7 separate regions of the Homo sapiens genome follow, and all the other regions are linked to region 4. The links are contacts of gene promoters, found by promoter capture Hi-C in blood cells and fetal thymus (Javierre and others, 2016). All regions are on one chromosome and are shown on one strand. Each heading gives the region's core, a stretch centred on a gene start or on the middle of the fragment in contact. The rest is flanking DNA. Distances are from core to core; before and after follow the strand shown.

The links. The method cuts DNA at HindIII sites, captures the fragments that hold promoters and counts their contacts. A CHiCAGO score of 5 or more calls a contact.
Region 1: a fragment that was not itself captured here is called in contact with the fragment with the promoter of ACTR8 in region 4 in 2 of 17 cell types (non-activated CD4 T cells and total CD8 T cells); the score reaches 9.5 in non-activated CD4 T cells.
Region 2: the fragment with the promoter of PDHB here is called in contact with the fragment with the promoter of ACTR8 in region 4 in 4 of 17 cell types (naive CD4 T cells, naive CD8 T cells, total CD4 T cells and 1 more); the score reaches 11.0 in naive CD4 T cells.
Region 3: a contact is called between a fragment that was not itself captured here and the fragment with the promoter of ACTR8 in region 4, in 3 of 17 cell types (total CD8 T cells, activated CD4 T cells and naive CD8 T cells). The highest score is 7.6, in total CD8 T cells.
Region 5: a contact is called between a fragment that was not itself captured here and the fragment with the promoter of ACTR8 in region 4, in 1 of 17 cell types (non-activated CD4 T cells). The highest score is 6.0, in non-activated CD4 T cells.
Region 6: a contact is called between a fragment that was not itself captured here and the fragment with the promoter of ACTR8 in region 4, in 1 of 17 cell types (non-activated CD4 T cells). The highest score is 5.5, in non-activated CD4 T cells.
Region 7: a fragment that was not itself captured here is called in contact with the fragment with the promoter of ACTR8 in region 4 in 2 of 17 cell types (non-activated CD4 T cells and activated CD4 T cells); the score reaches 13.1 in non-activated CD4 T cells.

What each region holds. Positions count from the first base shown.
Region 1 is chr3:57,598,663-57,601,559 of GRCh38, reverse strand. ARF4-AS1 (ARF4 antisense RNA 1) reads right to left here. Exons shown (of 2, transcript NR_132370.1): 2 at 644-817. It also overlaps a transcript of PDE12 not described here. Among named protein-coding and RNA genes, the nearest start is that of ARF4-AS1, 2.3 kb to the right of the region's middle. The HindIII fragment of the contact is 2,797 bases long and covers 1-2,656 here.
Region 2 is chr3:58,432,472-58,435,418 of GRCh38, reverse strand. PDHB (pyruvate dehydrogenase E1 subunit beta) reads left to right here and starts at 1,587. Exons shown (of 10, transcript NM_000925.4): 1 at 1,587-1,651; 2 at 1,735-1,788. The coding sequence starts at 1,610. It overlaps LOC107986092 (a long non-coding RNA gene), which reads right to left and starts at 1,824. Exons shown (of 4, transcript XR_007095933.1): 1 at 1,177-1,824. RefSeq lists enhancers at 1-569, 1,612-1,831 and a silencer at 1,312-1,551. The HindIII fragment of the contact is 4,898 bases long and covers 1-2,947 here.
Region 3 is chr3:58,301,430-58,304,264 of GRCh38, reverse strand. No RefSeq gene overlaps it. Among named protein-coding and RNA genes, the nearest start is that of RPP14, 3.4 kb to the left of the region's middle. The HindIII fragment of the contact is 2,909 bases long and covers 51-2,835 here.
Region 4 is chr3:53,880,597-53,883,635 of GRCh38, reverse strand. ACTR8 (actin related protein 8) reads left to right here and starts at 1,484. Exons shown (of 13, transcript NM_022899.5): 1 at 1,484-1,657. The coding sequence starts at 1,535. RefSeq lists silencers at 1,268-1,357, 1,748-1,857 and an enhancer at 1,518-1,597. The HindIII fragment of the contact is 9,111 bases long and covers 1-2,141 here.
Region 5 is chr3:57,749,356-57,752,143 of GRCh38, reverse strand. No RefSeq gene overlaps it. Among named protein-coding and RNA genes, the nearest start is that of SLMAP, 5.6 kb to the left of the region's middle. RefSeq lists an enhancer at 1-560. The HindIII fragment of the contact is 7,472 bases long and covers 1-2,788 here.
Region 6 is chr3:57,766,525-57,769,553 of GRCh38, reverse strand. All of the region lies in intron 2 of SLMAP (sarcolemma associated protein), which reads right to left. Among named protein-coding and RNA genes, the nearest start is that of SLMAP, 12 kb to the right of the region's middle. The HindIII fragment of the contact is 215 bases long and covers 1,179-1,393 here.
Region 7 is chr3:58,492,264-58,495,267 of GRCh38, reverse strand. All of the region lies in intron 1 of KCTD6 (potassium channel tetramerization domain containing 6), which reads right to left. Among named protein-coding and RNA genes, the nearest start is that of KCTD6, 1.7 kb to the right of the region's middle. RefSeq lists a silencer at 2,872-3,004. The HindIII fragment of the contact is 1,736 bases long and covers 427-2,162 here.

The sequences.
Region 1 (2,897 bases), core at 9-2,508, 3.7 Mb before region 4:
TTCCACATCTGCTATTGGCTGAATCTGTGGGTTTGAAACCTGAAGATACAGGGGGTCTGCTGTCTGTACATTATTAAACCCAAGGGACTGGAATGTAAATTCCATATACATATTTGTGACTAAAAAGATCTCACTAAGAAAAATAGTCAGAGGCTGGGCGCGGTGGCTCACACCTGTAATCCCAGCATTTTGGGAGGCCGAGGTGGGTGGACCACCTAGGTCAGGAGTTCGAGACCAGCCTGGCCAACATGGTGAAACCCCCTCTCTGCTAAAAATACAAAAATTAGCCGGGCGCAGTGGCATGTGCCTGTAATTCCAGCTACCCCGGAGGCTGATACAGGAGAATCGCTGGAACCCAGGAGGCAGAGGCTACAGTGAGCCAAGATCGCCCCACTGCACTCCAGCCTAGGTGACAGAGCAAAAAAAAATAAAATAAAATAACCAGAGATGAGGAAAACATACTACCTAGTGTAGTATGTTATGAGTACATGCTTTTGAGCCTGGGCAACTTTATACAACACTGTGTTCAAAAGCGATGATTAAATGAAGTACATGGCTTAGCAAGTGATCAATAAACTATAGCAATTTTTCTTGTAGGGCTCAATTTCCTCATTTTTAAAAATAAGAAAGATTCTCTTCTGGGTTTGTATTGATGAAAGGTGAATAGAAAAATATTTTATTTTTAAAATATTTTTTAAAATAGAAATGGCATCTCACTATATTGCCAAGGCTGGTCTGGAACTTCTGGGCTCAAGTGAGTCTCCCATCTTGGCCTCCCAACATGCTGGGATTACAGGTGTGAGCCACCATGCCTGACCTAGAAAAATAAAATAAAATAAAAATAAATTTGGGGTCTGGGCACGGTGGCTCACACCTCTACTACCAACACTTTGGGAGGCCAAGGCGAGTAGATCGCCTGAGCTCAGCAGCTGGATACCAGCTTGGGCAACATGCTGGTCTCTACAAAACGCCAACTCTACCAAAAATACATAAAATAGCTGGGCATGGTGGAATATGTCTGTGGTCCCAGCTACTTGGGAGGCTGAGGCAGGAGGAAAAAGGGAGGGGAGGGGAAGGGAGAGGAGGGAAAAGGGAAGGGAAAAGGGAACAGAAGGGGGAAGGGAGGGGAAAAGGGAAAGGAAAGGAAGGGGAGGGAAGGATGAAGGAAAGAAAAGAAAGAGAAAGAAAGAAAAGAAAGGAAAGAAAGAAAAAGAAAAGAGAAAAGAAAAGAATTTGGCCGGGAACAGTGGCTCAGGCCCATAATCCCAGTACTTTGGGAGGCCAAGGCAGACAGATTGGTTGAGCTCAGGAGTTTGAGACCAGCCTTGGCAACATAGCAAAACCCTGTCTCTACAAAAAATAACACTACTTAGCCAATGTGGTGGTGTACCTGTAGTCCCAGCTACTTTGGGGGCTGAGGTGGGAGGATCACTTGATCCCAGGAGGTTGAGTAAGCCGAGATGATGCCACTGTACTTCAGCTTGGGTGACAAAGTGAGACCCTGTCTCAAATAAATAAATAAATAAATGTAAGAAGGTAGTATAGTGTAGTGGTTAAGAGTGTTAATGGCTGGGTGCACTGGCTCACACCTGTAATCCCAACACTTTGGAGGCTGAGGTGGAAGGATTGCTTGGGCCCAGGAGTTCCAGACAGGCCTGGGCAACATAGCCAGAATCCACTTATTTATTAAAAAAAAAAAAAAAAAAAGAGTGTAAATACCAGTTAATACCAGAAGAAATGGGTTCTTATAGCTGTTCCACTGCTTTTAGCTGTGTGACCTTGGGCAGAATATTTAATCTCTCTGACCCTGATTATTTTTATCTGTACAATAGAGATATTACAGTCTGCCATTAACATCCTGTTTTGTAATTTACATTAGCCACTTGATGTGTAGTGTATTCTTACTGAAAAATCTGTTTTGACAACTTTTGTTTTGGTTCAGGTTTTGGAGGCTAGAGATGGAGAACAGAATTCTTTCGATTTATTTTGCATAACTAAACAGAAAACATGGATTAAGATTTGGAATAAGTTACAGGGAGGAGGGCTCATACGGTTTGTCTTTTGAATTTAAGAAGACCCTAAGAATTAGTTGAAGATTGTTTTAAGGAATTCTACTATATAAAACTAAAAACAGACATAAGGCCTAAAGTGTGAAAGGAAAATAAATCTTGGGGCCTCCACCTCACTAAGCTAAAGAGAAAAGTCAAGCTGGGAACTGCTTAGGGCCAACCTGCCTCCCATTCTTTAAAAAGTCACCCCTCTGCTCACTGAGATAAACGCATATCTGACTGCCTCCTTTGGAGAGGCTAATCAGAAACTCAAAGGAATGCAACCATTTGTCTCTTATCTATCTATGCCCTGGAAGCTCCCTCCCCACTCAGAGTCTTCCTGCCTTTGCTTTGAGTTGTCCAGTCTTTCCAGAATGAACCAATGTTCATCTTACATATATTGATTGATGTCTCATTTCTCCCTAGAATGTATAAAACCAAACCGTGCTCTGATCACCTTGGGCACATGTCTACAAGACCTCCTGAGGCTATGTCATGGACGCGTGTCCTCAACTTTGGCAAAATTAACTTTCTAAATTAACTGAGGCCTGTCTCATATTTTGGGGGTTCACAAAAGGATACAAGAAGGTCTTGTCACTTAGCAAGCTTCCAAAATGCAATTTTGAGTTATTCAACTGCTAAGCAACTCTTTACATGTATCTCCAATGCAAAGGAGGGTACTTCTGAGTAAAGAAGTTTTTGGGGTTTTTTTGTTGTTGTTGTTTGTTTTTTTAAGACAGTCTCGCTCTGTCGCCCAGGCTGGAGTGCAGGGGCGCGATCTCCGCTCACTGCAACCTCCGCCTCCCGGGTTCACGCCATTCTTCTGCCTCAGCCTCCGGAGTAGCTGGG
Region 2 (2,947 bases), core at 338-2,837, 4.6 Mb before region 4:
CAAAAATCCAAAATTTTCCTCTGCTCTTCCCTAGCACTTACAGCATTCCTATTGATTCTAGCCCAAATAGATCTCAAAACTGTCCCCCTCCTCTCCATCTGGAAGTTGCCTCCTAGTCTGCCTCTGTTGCTGCCACAGACTTCCCAGCATCCGCCTGTTCTGCCTTTGCCTCCACCCCCTCCCATTCCCAGTCAGCAACCTACTGGAAGTTGCAAATTCCTAATTTGGCAGCCTGCAGCTGTGATCCATAGAAGGGAATGTTTGGAATGTCTTGGGGATGGGTGGAGACTGGGTGCTCAATTGTCCCATCTGACCCCCAAGGGCCAAATTAAGACTAATGAGCTTCCAGAGGTTGTCCCTATGGCCAAGTGTTTGGCACCTCCCCATAAGGGAGGAGACCACCCCTCATATTGTCTTATGCCCAATTTCTGCCTCCAAAGAAAGAAAAAGTAAAAACTAAAAGGCAGAAATGAAATCCACAAACAGACAGCCTGGTGCCACACCCTGGGCCTGGTAAAGATCGACCCCGACCTAATCGGTTATGTTAACTATAGATTACAGACATTGTATAGAAAAGCACTGTGAAAATCCCTATCCTGTTCCAGTCTAATTACCGGTGCTTGCAGCCCCTAGTCACATACCCCCTGCTTGCTCAATCAATCATGACCCTCTCACGCACACCTCCTTAGAGCTGTGAGCCCTTAAAAGGGACAGGAATTGCCCATTCAGGGAGCTCGGCTCTTGAGACAAGAGTCTTGCCCATGCCCCTGGCCGAATAAACCCCTTCCTTCTTTAACTCGGTGTCTGAGGAGTTTCGTCTGCGGCTTGTCCTGCTACATCCATAGGGCCGCCCTTCTCTAAAGTTGTTGTAACCTTCCCCCAAGCAGGAATCCACTTCTGCTTTAGGAAGCAGTGGGAAAAAGACCATGCTTTAGAGTCAAGACAGTCCTAAATTAAAATATCGGCTCATTTAATCAATTTCTGCTTCAGTTTAACCGTCTTCAAAATGGAGATAATAATAACACTAATTACCCAAGTGGGGTACTGTGAGAATGAGCTATACAGCACATATCTCAATGCTTGGCTCACAGTAGGTGCTTAATGCAATCAATGAAAGCTATGATGTGCATTATAAGGAATCAACAGACAGCACTGTCCAGGGAAGACTAGACTCACTCATGAAGTGTTAAGTTCCCCATCAGTAGAGCGTGTGCAAGCACTTCTTGGTGCCCAAAGGATTCCAGCACCCACAACAGGTTGGCCTAACTCTTAAGGTCTCTCCAGCTTCCAGAGATCATGCTCCTCAGGGTCTGACTTCTAGTCCCCACGCTTCAAGTAACACCGACCAGGCACGTGTGCCCAGCGTGCACCCCGCCTGTCGGTCACCGCCTACTGTCAATAAAGTTGATTTGAGGCGGCTCCAGGCAGAGGGGCACGGCCACCCACACGCCACCTCAGCCCGGCCCCGCGGCCCCTCACCCGGTGGGCGGGTGGGCGGGTCACGCAGCCGGCGCGCCTTGCCATTGGCCCGCGCCGGTGGAGGCGGGGCCTGCTCACGTCTGCCGGCCCCTCTGTTGTCGTTTGGCAGCGGATAGAGGACACGACCAAGATGGCGGCGGTGTCTGGCTTGGTGCGGAGACCCCTTCGGGAGGTAGGCAGCAGCGCGCGGCCTGTATTCCCACGCGACCCCTGCCCACCCTGCGTCCCGCCGTCATCTTCCTCTCTCCCTGCCAGGTCTCCGGGCTGCTGAAGAGGCGCTTTCACTGGACCGCGCCGGCTGCGCTGCAGGTAACAGGCGCGGGTGCTCGTCGGACGAGGGCGGGGAGGGTCCCCCCTTCTCTCGGGAAGGAGGCCGGAGTCGCGCCTGCGCTGTGGCCTTCCGGCGCCGTGGGCCTTGGGTTTGCGGAGCCAGCATCCTCCGTGGAGCTCCTGCTGCCTCTGTCGCCGCCTGGCAATTAGCACACCGGCGAGTCACCACCTCACAGCTGGCTGGGCAATGGGGGAAAACTAAGACTAGGCGTTTCCTCCCTCACTCCATGTTTTTTTCTTTAAATTGCAGCAAAATAGACCTAACTTAAAATGTACTTTTTAGAAGTGTATAATTCAGTGGCATTAAGTACATTCACCATGTTGTACAACCATTAACCACCATCCATTTCCAGAACTTTTTAATCATCCCAAGCAGAAACTGTCCATTACTCGGTAACTCCTCATTTCCCTTCCCCAAACCCCTGGTAACCCCTGTTGTACTTTTCTGTCTTTATGAGGTTGCCTATTCTAGAACTTCTTATAAGTGGCATCATTTGTCCTTTTGTGTCTGGCTTATCTCAGCGTAATGTCCTCAAGGTTCATCCATGTTGTAGCATGCGTCAGAGTTTGATTCTTTCCTAAGGCTGAATAATATATATATGTATATTTTTTTGAGATAGTCTCCCTCTGTCACCCAGGTTGGAGTGCAGTGGCGCGATCTCAGCTCACTGCAACCTCCACCTCCTGGGCTCAAGGGATTCTCGCGCCTCACACTCCTGAGTAGCTGTGATTAGATGCCGGTGCCACCACACCGGGCTAATTTTTGTATTTTTAGTACAGACAGGGTCTCACCATATTGCCCAGGCTGGTCTTGAACTCCTGGCCTCAAGTGATCTGCCTGCCTTGGCCTCCCAAAGTGCTAGGATTACAGGCATGAGCCACCTCGCTCAGCCCGACATTTTCTTTTTTTTTTTTGAGACGGAGTTTTGCTCTTGCTGCCCAGGCTAGAGTGCAGTGGCACTATCTCAGCTCACTGCAATCTCTGCCTCCTGGGTTCAAGCAATTCTGCCTCAGCCTCCCGAGTAGCTGGGATTACAGGCACCCGCCACCACACCCGGCCAATTTTTGTATTTTTAGTAGAGAATGGGTTTCACCATGTTGGCCAGGGTGGTCTCGAACTCCTGACCTCAAGTGATCC
Region 3 (2,835 bases), core at 256-2,755, 4.4 Mb before region 4:
AAGCAAACACAGACCCCACAGACCCAAGTATTATCTTTCTCAAAAAAGCTTGATTTCAGAAGCTGCCAGAACTTGCTTCAAATGCATCCTCTGCCACTTACCTACCTCCCTCATCTGTCACATGGAGAGATTATTAGCATCTACCTCACAGAGTTGAGGGAAAAAGAGTTGATGGTATAAAGTGTCTGGCACCCCAGGAAACCCTCAGTAATGGGAGAGGGTTCCTGTAAGCCAGCTGCCTGGCAAATGTATCCTGCCAGGTGGCCCAGGAAAACCAGAGCAATTCCTGTATTTTGAACTTCAAGGAACAATAGATAATTTTCACCCTGCTGCAACAAACCCTGAAAATGAAGTGTCTTCCCAGTTGCCTGAATTCTCTCATGCTGTCTTATTAATTCAGAGCGGAGGATAAAAGAGATGCCTTTGAATGATAAAGACAAAAAACTTGTTTTTTGGCTGGGTGTTGTGGCTCAGGCCTGTAATCCAGCACTTTAGGAGGCCGAGGTGGGCAGAACACCTGAGGTCAGGAGTTCAAGACCAGCCTGGCCAACATGGCGAAACCCTGTCTCTACTAAAAATACAAAAATTAGCTGGGTGTGATGGTGCGCACCTGTAATCCCAGCTACTCGGGAGGCTGAGGCAGGAGAATTGCTTGAACCCAGGAGGCAGAGGTTGCAGTAAGCTGAGATCACGCCACTGCACTCTAGCCGAGATGACAGAGCGAGACTCTGCCAACAAACAAAACAAAACAAAAAACAAAAAAAAACTTTTGTTTTTCAACTAAATTTTATATTAAAAAATCGTTTTTGGACAGTGTCTCACTGTCACCCAGACTGTAGTACAATAATGTGATCATGGGTCACTGTAGCCTCAACCTCCCAGGCTCAACCGATCCTCCCACCCCAGCCTCCCAAGTAGCTGGGACTACAGGTGCATGCCACCATGGCCAGCTAATTTTTAATTTTTTTGTAGAAACAGGGTCTCACCATGTTGCTCAGGCTGGTCTTGAACTCCTAGGCTCAAGCGATCCTTCTGCGTTGGCCTCCCAAAATGCTGGGATTACAGGTGTGAGGCACTGCACCATGCCTAAATTTTATCTTCTGAATAGGTACTGTAGGCTTACAGCATACATTTCAAATGACATAAAGGGATAGATATTAAAAAGTGAGTCTCCCTTCCACCTCTTCCCCTGTCAGCCTCTCCCCTCTCCAGGAGCAACAACTAGTATGAGTTTCTTAAGTGTCCCCTGAAAAATATGATATGGGGGCTTTTACCTCTTGACGATGTATCTAAAATTGCTCCAAATCAAAACACACAAGGCTGCCTCAGTCTTTTTTTCTTTTTTTTTTTGGAGACAGGGTCTTACTCTGTGGTCCAGGCTGGAGTACAGTGGTGCAAACATAGGTCACTGCAGCCTCAAACTCCTGGGCTCAAGTGATCCTCCTGCCTCAGCCTCCAGAGGAGCTGGGACTACAGGCATGTGTCACCACACCTGGCTAATTTTTTTGATTTTTATTTTTAGAGAGGGGATCTTGCTATGTTGCCCAGGTTAGCTGCCTCAGTCTTTATGAAAGTTACCCTGTACTGCATTGGGTGGAGCCAGTTAGTTCTTAAGAGGACCATTTCAGGTACCCTCTGTGTTTCAGAGCAAAGTTGTTGGGGTCGGTCTCTATTTTATGTCCCTGAAAGGTACGGCAGCCAAGAATGAGTTAAGTCCACACTTCCCCTCTGCTGTGTGGCTCCCCTCCCTGCCTTACTTATTGGTGCCAAATGGATTTTTCTAAAGCTGAGGAGCTTTCTCAACTTGGGGAAGAAAAGGCAAGAGAGAAGGGTCCAAGTGAGATTCCAGTCCCCCTGTTCTCCATTGATTTAATGGAAAACACCCCCTATGTCAGCAGATTGTGGAGATAGGACAAAGGAAGTGAAAATGATCAGAAGTTAAAACCTATGGAACTGTAGCCATTGTTTCTGTTTCGAGAATAAGATCACATAGTTTAGGGAGATTTGCCAAGTACCAGCTAACTTGCTCACATTATTCCATCAACCATGCAATGTCACTATAATTACCACTTTTCACAGATGAAGAAAATGAAGCTAAGTCATTTATCTAAGGTGGTGAGAGGCTCCAGAGCCTAAAAAGCTGCATTCCATCCCTCCCATGTGGAAGACCAGTCTGGGAGCTGCTCCTTTGAGGCAACTCAAGTGTCATCAACTCAAGCGTCATCTCCAAACAAGAAACTCTGAAAAGCAGGCAGTGCTTTAGAATCCCTAGAAGCCAAGCCTGAGAGAGAGACCCTCACGGAAGTGATTTACTGGGAGATGGCCCCCAAGTGAAATCTGTAAGGGAGGAGGGAAGCAAGATAGGGCAGGAGAAGAAGCCAAGCAAAGATGTGGATTTGAAACCGGTCCAATCATCCCACAGAACTGATGCTTACGGTTTCTTTTGAGTATATGTAGAGATTGACCTTCTCATCTTAAAATTTGAGAAGTTACATTTGTCTTATCTGAGTTCCTTTCTCAGTAAACCAACCATGAGGCTTCCCAGGTAGTATCAAGGAGCTGAAACTCACCAGATCACTGCATTTGGACAATGACAGTCCAGACCCTTCACCCTTCATGACTGCCTGTCTCCCACGACCTGCTTTCTGTTGACCAACTCCCCTTCCTTATCCTTCCCTGATTCCTGTTTTCCTGCATTTGTTATATTTCTGCTGTATAAACTCCTAATTTTAGTCAGTCAGGGAGATGGATTTGAGACTGATCTCCCATGTCCACAGCAGCAGCTCTCAAAGAAAGCCTTCTTCCCTGGCAATATTCATTGTTTCAGTGATTAGC
Region 4 (3,039 bases), core at 235-2,734:
ATAGAATGTAAAACACAGGTTCTTGAGTACTTTATGCTTAACTCTTGTCTTTGCTACTCAATAGCTTATGATCTTGAGTGAATTATGCCATTTTATCCCACTTCACTCACCTGTAAAACGGGGATTAAATTTTTACCTCCAAGAGTTCTTTATTTAGTATTTAGTCATCACATGCTTATTGGGCACCTACCATGTGCTGAAGATAACTGGCAAAGTCTCACGGAGCTTACATTCTAGTGTGGGAGACAGTGAGCAGGCATGATAATTACAGACTAATGCTTCATGCTTCAAAGGGAATAGGATGATGAGAGAATAACTGCGGAAGGCCTGAGGTGACATTTGAGTTCAGACGTGAGAATGAGACAGCTGAGGGAAGAGCATCCAAGGCAAAATGAACAGCAAGTGCAACAGCCCGATGACGGGAAGGGCTTGGCATGTCTGAGAAAGATAAAACAGGTGTAGCTGGAAATGCCAAGGAATGGGGAGAGTGTTGTGAGGTGAACTTAGAAATGTAGCAATAACTAGATATGGTCTTTAGGTGGTGGTTAGTTTAGATTCTGTTCTTTGAGCAAAGGGAAACCATTAGAGTTTAAAGCATGAGTGACATCTAATTTTTGAGGTAAGTCTTAGTGGAGTGCTGGGTACATAGTAGTATTAACTACGTAATATTTTAAAACAACGTGGGCAACTATATAAGAACAGATCATAGGGGGACAGGACAAGGAGTTCGAGTTAAGAGGCTGTTGTAGTCATCCAGGTGAGATGATAGTGGCTTGGGCTAGGTAGTGGCATGGGAATGGAGAAGTGGATGAATTCAAGATCTATTTTAGAGACTGCAGGATTTACTGATGGATTGGATGTAGAAGCTGTCAACAAGTGAAGAATCAAAATGACATTTACTGAGATGGTGAAAGTGAGAGGGGAGGGAATCAAGAGTTAAATTTTGGACATATTTAAGTTTGCAGTGCCTTGTAGACAATCCAGATGGAGAGACCAAGTAGGCACTGGTTATCAGTACGGATCTCTCTGAGCGGTTCATCCTGGATATATATATTTGGGAATCGTATTCATTGCTAAAGCCAGGAAACTGGATAGTCACCCAAGGAGTGTGCCTGGAAAAGACCTAACCCCAACATCAGAGGCTGGACTGAACATGAAGACATATGAGAAAAACTAAGAGTACATATGGTATCTGGGAAGCCAGGAGAAGAGATGCCTGTGAGGACGAAATAAGATGCGGGTTATCAGCCGACCCCCACTAGGCGCTCGAAAAGCTATGTGTACTATGTTGCTGGCATCTACACAGTCAGGACTAATCACAGCAACACCCACCCAATCAATCCGCATGCACACCCCGCCCCCAGCCCCTGCGCCGGGCAGCCCCACCCCCGCCTTTTCGGAGCCCTCTGGGGCGACTCCGCGGCGGCCATCTTGACTGTGGGCAGCCGGCCGTGCGCCTGCGCGGTGGCCCTTCCATCCCGGCAGTCGTGGCTGCAGCGCTGAGGCGAGAGGTTGGTGGGTGTCTCCGGCCATAATGACCCAGGCTGAGAAGGGTGATACGGAGAACGGAAAGGAGAAGGGCGGCGAGAAGGAGAAGGAGCAGCGCGGCGTGAAGCGGCCCATCGTGCCCGCGCTGGTGCCGGAGTCGCTGCAAGAGGTGCGGCTCTGGCTGGGTTGGAACTCTTTGCCCTTGCTTGGGTCCTCCGCTGCCAGGCAAGGGGCGGGAGGCGGCGGGAGGCTTCGAGTCCCCCTTGCAGGCCCCAGCCCCTGGTGGGGGGAGTGCGGAAGCGGTCGTTCTTTTCCGGGTGGTGGCGCGCCGGGACGCCGAGGGCTGGGAGGTGCGGAGCGCCAGGAGCCAGGCGGAGCCCCCGCAGGGACACCGCTCCGATCTCCCGCACGCCCCACCGTCTGGTTGTGTGCGCTCCTGCCCGGGCTCTGGCCTCAGCTTCCCCGACCATAAAACGACCACGGTGATAACCAGCCGCCTCGCAAGTTGCCGTGAGGGTTAAATGGTGGCAGATAGAGTTTAGGACCAGGCTGGCTCACTGGGAGCGTCAGCCTGTGCTTGTTAAGGGATAGTTTGGGGTCCAGGCTTTTTCCTTTGTTAAGGAAATCTCAGATAATGGAAGTCATTTCAAGCTTAAAAGCAAGGAAATGGTGGACATTTGTCTAAATATATATTAAGAGCTTGTGTATCAAAAACAACACTATTAGACCAAACTAAACTAACCAGAAAAAATTATTTGCAGTAGCGTGCCTGGCAGAGGACCTTAGATGTATACACATACACAAAACCTTACTGATCAGTAACTAAAACAGCATTCACGTAGGAAAACGGGCACAGGCAGTGTACAATTCACAGAAGAAATGAGGCATAAACTGCTCAGAAATTCATGTAGGACATCTCTGATCCAGCTTCCTTACCGGTAGATGGGTTAAGGATAATACCTAACTAGTAGGGCAGCTACTAGTTAGTTATCACTAGTATGACAGTGCCTGGCACACCGTAAGCCCAGAGTGGCCATTACTGTTGCACAGGCCTGGTTTCTCCATCTGTCTAGTTGAGAAGGCTGACTGGATGGTCTGTAAGGGCCTTGCCAGATCCTTCCCTCTAGGATTCTCCCACTCTGTGGGGGGTGATTAGGAGGAGAGAGGTCACACTTGGAGATAGGACAACAGGTATCAGAGCATGGCATGGAATGGGCTTGTGCAGAGGGCAGTATTGGGCACTCAAGCAAGTACCTCCTCCATCCCCGACAGTCAGGGAGGGTTTCTTCAAAGGAGGTGAGGTGACATCTGTTTAGAGTCCTGAAGGTGATTAGGAGCTAACCAGAGGGAGGAGGGAATCTCAGGGAAGAAGAACAGTGTGGAAGACACTTGTGCCAACAGAGGATGTGAAGTGTTGGAGGCCCAGCCAGTAGATTAGGATGTCTGGAGTTAAGGAAGGGGACTGAAGATCTTAGCAGGGGCCATATCATGAGGGTCGTGTAAGCCACAGAGTCTGACCTCTTGTGAAGGCAGTGGATCACGTTGAAAGGC
Region 5 (2,788 bases), core at 258-2,757, 3.9 Mb before region 4:
ATTGAGTGACTGAAAATAAGTCACCATGCTAGATCCAAAGTACATGCTGGGGTTTTTTCTTTCTAAAAATTATCTTTATTTTTATTTATTTATTTTTTGACAATATCTTGCTCTGTCACCTAGGCTGGAGTGCAATGGCACAATCACGGCTCACTGTAGCCTCAACCTCCCCAGCCCAACCAATCTTTCCACCTCAGCCTCCTTAGTAGGCATGTGCCACAGGCATGTGCCACCGCCATACCCAGCTAATTTATTTTTGTTTATTAATTTTTTCTTTTCTGTATACCTCGGATCCCCTGTGTTGCTTAGGCTGGTCTCAAACCCATGGGCTCAAGTGATCCTCCTGTCCGGCCTCCCATAGTGCTGGGATTATAGGCATGAGCCACCATGCCGGCCCCGACTGATTTTTTTGATTGATAAAAGAAACACATGCTCATTGCATATATTCAGGTAAGCAAAAATGAGGAAAGTAAAAGTCCTCTCTAGCCCCATCACAAATACTTAGTCTAATGCTACTGTTAACAATTTGTTAGCTGTATTCTTCCAGATGCTATTCTAAGCCACATGAAGCATGCCCTTTTAAAAATACCACATTTATTAGAAGTGGGAAGGTCAACACTAAGGGCCTTATTCTTAAAAGTGATAAATAATTTATATCAATAGCAAAAGGCCTGTATTGGGGCACGGGGACGAGGAAGGGAAGAAATTATGCTATTTTTTGTCACTCTTGTATAAGTCCCCTTTTGATTACTGGAAGTATCTGCTTGTTTTTTATAACTAATTTGAGAATGTTACTTGGAATGTAGCAAATGCTTAAGAGTAAAAGGGCTGGGTCAGAAAACCCCATGAGGCATTTTCTTTCTGAATTTTTATTGGTATATCTGGATTTGTTTCCAAATAACTTAGTTACCAAGTAAAATATCAGAGACTCTATATACGATGGCTTTGCTCATCAAATGATTTGTAACATATGTATATATAATAATTCCCTGCAAGTGTGGCACATAAAAATATATTTTAAGTACATACTTTATTCTAAGAAAACTATGATATTTTGGCCTGGCATGGTGGCTCACACCTGTAATCCCAGCACTTTGGAAGGCCAAGGCAGGAGGATCACCTGAGGTCAGGAGTTCAAAACCAGACTGGCCAACATGGTGAAGTCCTGTCTCTACTAAAAATACAAAAATTAGCCGGGTGTGGTAGCACACGTCTGTAATTCCAGCTACTTGGGAGGCTGAGGCAGGAGAATCACTTGAACCTGGGAGGTGGTAGCTGCAGTGAGCCGAGATCTCGCCATTACACACTCCAGCCTGGGTGAAACAGCAGGACTCTGTCTCAAAAAAAAAGAGAGAGAGAGAGAAAGAAAACTATGATATTTTGAATAATTGTTTTTGAATGTAGTTATTTGTGTTTCCTTTTAATAAACTTTATTTGGGCTTTTGTTTCAGAAAAATGCCTTGTTGCTACTGTATAATGTCATACATCAGCATCTCACTAAATGCCTATGTTTTAGAAAACTAATAAATATCTCAGGGATCTTTGGTCTTAAGGATTTCTCAGAAGATAGGTTGAAATGGATTGAAGAGACCTATACAAGGAAGTGACTCTGGAGTGCCTGCTCCTCCTGCACCCCCACTCCCTCAAAGCGTGTCAAGCATACAAGGCTGGGAGGAGGAGGTCTCATCTGTGTTTTTTGTTTTTTTTTTTTTGAGACAGAGTCTCGCTCTGTTGCCGAGGCAGTAGTGCAATGTGTCAGTCTCGGCTCACTGCAACCTTTGCTTCCGGGGTTCAAGCAATTCTCCTACTTCAGCCTTCTGACTGAGTAGCTGGAATTATACGCACTCGCCACCACACCCAGCTAATTTTTTTTTTTTTTTTTTTCAAGTAGAGAAGGGGTTTCACCATGTTGGCTAGGCTGGTCTCATACTCCTGACCTCAAGTGATCTGCCCGCTTCTGCCTCCCGAATGGTGGAATTACAGGCATGAGCCACTGCACCTGGCCAATCATCTGTAGATTCTTCACTGGGTTTTGTACAGAGCCGGTTTCATAGCGTATGACCTTTACGTAGGGCCCCGCTTGGAAGGACTATATCTAGTTGTACTCTGCTGTCTTGAAATTCTCGGTAACTTTTGAACAGATTTCTCATTTTCATTTGCACTGGACCCCTCAAATTATATAGCTGTTGCCAAGCGTGGTGGCTCATGCCTGTAATCCCAACCCTTTGGAAGGCCAAGGCTTTTGGATCACCTGGAGTCAGGAGTTCAAGACCAGCCTGGCCAACACGATTAAATCCCGTCCCTACTAAAAATGCAAAATTAGTATGGTGTGGTCGATCACACCTGTAATTCCAGCTACTCAGGAGGCTGGGGCAGTGAGCCAAGATCGTGCCCTTGCACTCCAGCCCAGGCTACAAAAGCGAAACTGAATAAAAACGAAAAAATTATATAGCTGTTCCTGCTTTGAACATATGGCTCAGGAACCCAGTCTCCTCTGTGCAAATCTAGCATGTTAACGAGCATGACACGTGAAATGCTGTAGAAGAAATTGGTGGGCTATTGACACTGAAAACGCTTCTCTAGAGAAATGAGATGCTTTAAGTGCAACCAGACAGGTCCGTCTCCCCATTTTCTGGTTATATGATAACTCAGGATCAGTGGCAAAGATGGTGGCAGAAGAAAACTTGATTTTGTAACTTCTCACTCTAGCTTAGACTCTGAAGTTAGTCTTGAAGACGATAATGAGAATAATATTGAATCAAGGTAGAACCTGTATCCACTAAAATTG
Region 6 (3,029 bases), core at 37-2,536, 3.9 Mb before region 4:
CCAGGAATTTGAGACCAGCCGGGCAACATAGTGAGACCTTGTGTCTTAAAAAAAAAAATCCAGCCGGGCGCGGTGGCTCATGCCTGTAATCCCAGCACTTTGGGAGGCCAAGGCGGGCGGATCACGAGGTCAGGAGATCGAGACCATCCTGGCTAACACGGTGAAACCCCATCTCTACTAAAAATACAAGAAACTGGCTGGGCGTGGTGACAGGCGCCCTGTAGTCCCAGCTACTCAGGAGGCTGAGGCAGGAGAATGGCGTGAACCCAGGAGGCAGAGCTTGCAGTGAGCCAAGATCGCGCCACTGCACTCCAGCCTGGGCAACAGAGCAAGACTCCATCTCAAAAAAAAAATAAAATAAAATGAAAATCCTTTTTGGAGATATAATTCAAACACCATACAATTGCCAATTTAAGTATACAATTCAGAGTTGTGCAACCATCGCCACAATCAATTTTACATTTTCATCATCCCAAAAAGAAACTCGTACCAATTTGGCAGTCATATCCTATGTTAGTCAAGGCTCTAGAAAAACAGAACCGATTGCATGTACATTTATATAGAGAGATTTATCTAATGGAATTGGCTCACGCAACTGGGGTGGGGGGTGCTGGCAAGTATGAAATTGGCGGGGCATATCATTAGACTAGGGATTCAGGGAAGAGCTGTTGTGTAGTCTTGAGTCCAACAGCTTTGTGAGGGCAAAATTCCTAACTTCAGGGGGACCTCAGTCTTTTTTTTTAAGGCCTTCGACTGATTAGAGAGGCCCACCCACATTATGGAGGGTAATATGCTTTACTCAAAGTATAATGGTATAAATGTTAGTCACATCTAAGAAATACTTTCACAGGAATATCAGGTTGGTGTTTGACCAAAAGTTGGTCAAGTGAAAAACTGATACCACAGCCTAGCCACACTGACATAAAATTAACCATCACATTCCTAATTACCCTCAGCCCCTAGAAACCACCAATCTTTGTTTCTATGAATTTACCTATTCTACACATTTCATATAAACAGTTGCCCAGGCTGAACTTGAAATCCTGGCCTCAAGCAATCTTCCTGCCTCAGCCTCCCAAAGTGCTAGGATTACAGGTGTGAGCCACCACACCTGGCCTGCTTGACTTTTTATGAGAATGTATTCCTGTTATTTGTATAAGTAAAAAATAAGAAAAGCTTGAAAGTCTATATTGGAAAATCCTTTCTGCTTGGCTCAGCTAGAATAAGTCAGTACTTATATATAAATAAAACTGTAAGCCTGAAAATATTGAGAAAATCTTAACACACAGTTTCTATGTGCTTAAATTTAAAATCCAACCCAAATTGTATACTTGACAAAAGATACAGTACTAACCACCAAACACGTCCATATTTTCAAGTGCCTATATAAGCTTTCCTTCTTTTCTTTACATTTGTCAGCTACTCTCTTATAAAGCATGAAAAATGTACATGGCCAAACAAGTTTTTCCAAGGCTGTTTCATTCATTTTCATATATACCCAAAGCCAAATCAGTTTGCCTGAATGCAAGCCCAAGAAAAAATATTGTATTTCTAGGAGTAGTAGAGGTAAGTTTTTAAAAATGTTAGCTGACTCAGAGAAATAATTAACTTGAGTTATTTCAGTCTTTGAAAGTCCGTAATATGACAAGTTTCGGTTATACATCAAAAAGCAATAGCTTAGATTACCTTTCAAGAGAGCAAAAGACAGATTTTCATAATAATTGCTCAGTCCCTAAGAAGACAGTTCAGAATAAATGTCTAATAGTTGGCTTTCATTTTGGGGGGAAAAAAACTCCCATAGTTACCACTAGATGATCTTGTACAAATAACCTCTAAACATCAAACTCTTTTTGGACAAAAGCGAGCCAGACTGCAGCTGTTTTACTTACCTTCTAAGAGTGTTATATAGACCAAATGAAACAAGAAAGCACTCTGATTATTCTAAAACCTTTTAAAATTATTTTGTGTGAAATTGTAATAGTTCATATATATAATTTCATATCACCAATCACAAGATTTGGATCTACGATCCAAAAACACTTAGCAAAATGTTTTGCAAACTGCAAGCTCTCAATAAATAATGACTTATACAAAGACTACATATTGATAATTGAGTCCATGATCTCAAATTGAGAACTAACTTGAATGACTTTCTGCCCTTTAACACTGCACAGGTTTGCAGAAATACAAACCGCTCCATTGTTCACATTTCCCTCATTCAAACATGAATGTAGTGCCTATTCTCTTGCTCTCAAGAGTTCACATCTGATGGGACAGTAGTACATTTGCATCATAGTTATTTTGTTGTTTATGTCCCATAATGAAATTATATACAGGCCGGGTGCAGTGGCTCACACCTGTAATCCCAGCACTTTGGGAGGCTGAGGCAGGTGGATTGCTTGAGGCCAGGAGTTCGAGATCAGCCTGGGCAACATGGTGAAATCCCATCTCTACTAAAAATACAAAAATTAGCCAGGTGTGCTGGGGGGTGCCTGTCATCCCAGCTACTTGAGAGGCTGAGGCAGGAGAACTGCTTGAACCCATGAGGTGGAGGCTGCAGTAAGCCAAGATCACACCACTACACTCTAGCCTGGGTGACAGAGAGGGACCCTGTCTCAAAAATAAAAATAAAAATAAATTTAAAAAAAAGAAATAAAGAAATTATACACAAAGTTAAATGGAAGTATAGAGGAAGAAGCAATTAATTCTTCAGTTAAAGGGAGTCAGGGAAGGTTTCACATTGGAACTGAGCCTTAAGGGATGACAAGAAGAGGTCATTCTAGAAGACAAAACAGCAAAAAAAGGCACTTGTTCTAGAAACAGTGAACACTGTCATACAGCTAGTACACAAAGTTTGGGGTGAAGAAAAAACAGTAATAAAAGAGAGAGCTAGAAAAAAAGAAAATAAGATATAGATTTTAATGCTAAAAATTAATGAGGCAACGTCAAAGATTTTTAAGCAAAGGTGTAACTATTTATCTACCTATATAGTGTCAGTAAGAGAAGCATGTACCTGAGAAGAGGAAAGA
Region 7 (3,004 bases), core at 45-2,544, 4.6 Mb before region 4:
GAGAAGTTAAATGACCACAAGACAGGCAGCAGAAGGAAGATCTTGAAATGGGTATCAAATAGGCCTATTTTACTTGATGAAAGCAAAGAAATATCTAATATTTCAGAAAATCTACCAGGAATGGTAACAATAAAAAATTTTTCCTTTATAGTGACTTTCCTTACTAAAACTAAAGATGGTTTTGAAAGACAGCAAATGCAACCGAGCACAAACAGCTATAAAATTCAAAGAAGCCTCTGACCCTGAAAAATCAGTTCACCTGAAAAGATGTAACCTTTGATGCAAATAAAATTCTTGTGAAAACAACACTGCCCACTCCCCAAAGAATATAAAGCAGTGCTGAAAATTCAACCATGTTTAAGCTTCAAAGGTTATTGTGACTAATGTATAAATTCTGACAGTGTCATGTTAGCAGGTAATTAAGCTTAAGAAAACACATACTGAAGAATTTATAGAAACCTTAAAAGGAAGTATTAATTTTCTAAAGTAGCATATCTGAAGAAATGCATACATAATTCAGTAAGTTAATAACTTAAAAAAATAACCTAAGAACCCTTAAATGCCATTCTCCCTATCACTGCAGAATTGCAATTACAGGCCTAATGGTTATGATGAACTAACTTAACAAAAATATTCTGGGTTTATCATTCCTGCTATAGATTAAGAATTCTCCGGGGCAAAAGTCCTAATCCTATATAACTACCTATATGTTGCAATAAAAACCTCCAACGAATAATAAAAAACTCCAACTACTGACTTCCCAGAGTTTCCAGGCAGCCCTTTAAAAATGCTTTTTTACTGAAACCTTCGTGTCTGGTAGTCAGAAAAGACTCAATAAACTCCCTCTTTCTATACTTACCTTCAAAATTGCCTTGTATTGAGTTTTGCTCTTCTTGAAATGTGGGAGTTTGAAAGCGAAATACTTTTTATAGTAACTAGTTCAGCGACATCTAAAGGAGTCTTTGGGGTTAACATTCACATACAGGCCAGCATAAGTAGCCAGGCATACAAGGATAATGTGATTATGGTTAGATTATCCTTAACCATACCACTGCAGAAATGGATTTTTCTCTACAAGTAATCATTTTCTCTTTCTCCTTTCTCAACCATGTGGTCTAGAAGAGAGAAGCTATAGGTTTAAAAGTGACCTAATATTAAAAAGCTGTCACAAATAGTCACAAAATCATAACATTCCTCTTAACCCTCAGTTTCCGCAAGATAAAACGGGATAATACCACCTTCCCAAAACGGGGTAATTACACCATTTAGGCACAACACAAAGGCAAAAATTGGCCTATAAGAGTAACACATCAGGACAAGGAAAGAGAACAGGTTCCCAGGGAGGTCCTGTAGTTGAATTCTGCTCCGTTACTGATTATGAGACCCTGAGAAAATCACTCTTTATGCCCAGCTTCTTCTTTGGGGAAATGGAGAAAATAAGGGAGATCATGAATATAAAACCATCTGTAAACTAGCAAGTATTAGACAAATGTGAAAACATTAGTGGCAGCAGCATAAACAAAATTTCTAGGTTAACATGAGAAACTTGAGTGTGAACACAAGTAATTTAGAGCATTGGCCTGGAGACGGCAAATATGGAGGAGGCAGCCTCTTAATTTGCTTCAAATCTCCCCAGGTCCTCCTTTTCCCAGAGCTCCAGAAGGGAGAACTATATACAGGTAAAGGGGAGTGTCTAGTTTTCCCAGAGTTCACCAAACACCTGAGCTCCTGATCTCAGAAGGAACTTCTTTAAAGCATGACTCGGGATTATCTCCAAGTTAAAGCTGAATCCAAATACATACAGGTACTCCATTTTAAATGGACCCCAAATATCAAAATCCAAGCGCACTGAAGGATTCATAGGGTTCACCCTAAGATTCCTTTAAGTAGTAATGCTTTGGTTAAAATATGATTTATGAAAATTCAAATCACAAAACTTTGGAATGGCATCCATGGCTATCCTGACCACTCCATCGTTCATATCTAAGGCATAGCACAAAATCAAGTATCAGTATGGACTGATGGTTTCGGCCAAAGAGAAAATACTCTCAACCTACCAACCCTGCTGACAAACACATTTTCCTTTTCCTAGCTACATATTCGTTCATTTGAAAACATCTCAATCTTGGGCTCAGGACTGTGCTACATGCTGTCCCCAAGCTTCTCTCCTATCCCAGGATGATTCAAGTAATAGGGCATTTGTGACAGCGAAAAAAAGAACATGCCAGGGGGATATAGAAGAGATACTTAGGCTACCCCAAATATTCTTAGCCGAGCCGGGTCATCCCAGGTCACTTTGCCACCCAAACCTCTTCTATCACAAAGTCCTAAAATTGGATCCATCAACTTGTTCTAGAACTGGTATACTTGAACAGAAACATGGTAACTTCGGCAGAATATCCAAACAGGATCTCTGTCACGTTTCATTTCCCCGTCCCACCCCCAGACACAGCCTCCACCACTGTCAGCCCAGCAGGTGCTGCCAGGGCTCCCCATTACCATGGCCATTTATCACCTCTGACATCAAGCATTAAAAACGCCACCACACACACACAAATCTAGGCATAAAGAACTCAGCTGCGATCTGAGAGTCTCTTCAGGGCAGAAAATCCCAAAGGCAGGGTTTTGAGTCCTGCCTCAAGCTTTAAACTAGGGCAATTGGTGGCTAATAAGCGCCATCTCCCAAAAACAATCATTTTCGAGCACACCCCAAATATCTCCGTCCGGGCCGCCCTTCGCTGCTGCCCCGCCAGCGAAGCCCCCGCAACCCGACCCGGCCAGGGGTAGGGCGGGCGATGCTCCGGGCCCGGACGAGGGGCGCGCCGCGGGGCTCCGAACCCGGGCCCGCAGAAACCGCGCATCCCCGCCGGGCGGGCCCCGGAACCCCCGCCCAGGCCCCGCCGCGGGCACCTCCGCTGCTGGCTCGTGCCAGCCCGGGACGCGCGGTCCCCTCAACGCGGCCCCGCCGCCGCCCCGTTCCAGGAGCCCCCGCCCAGATCCTCCT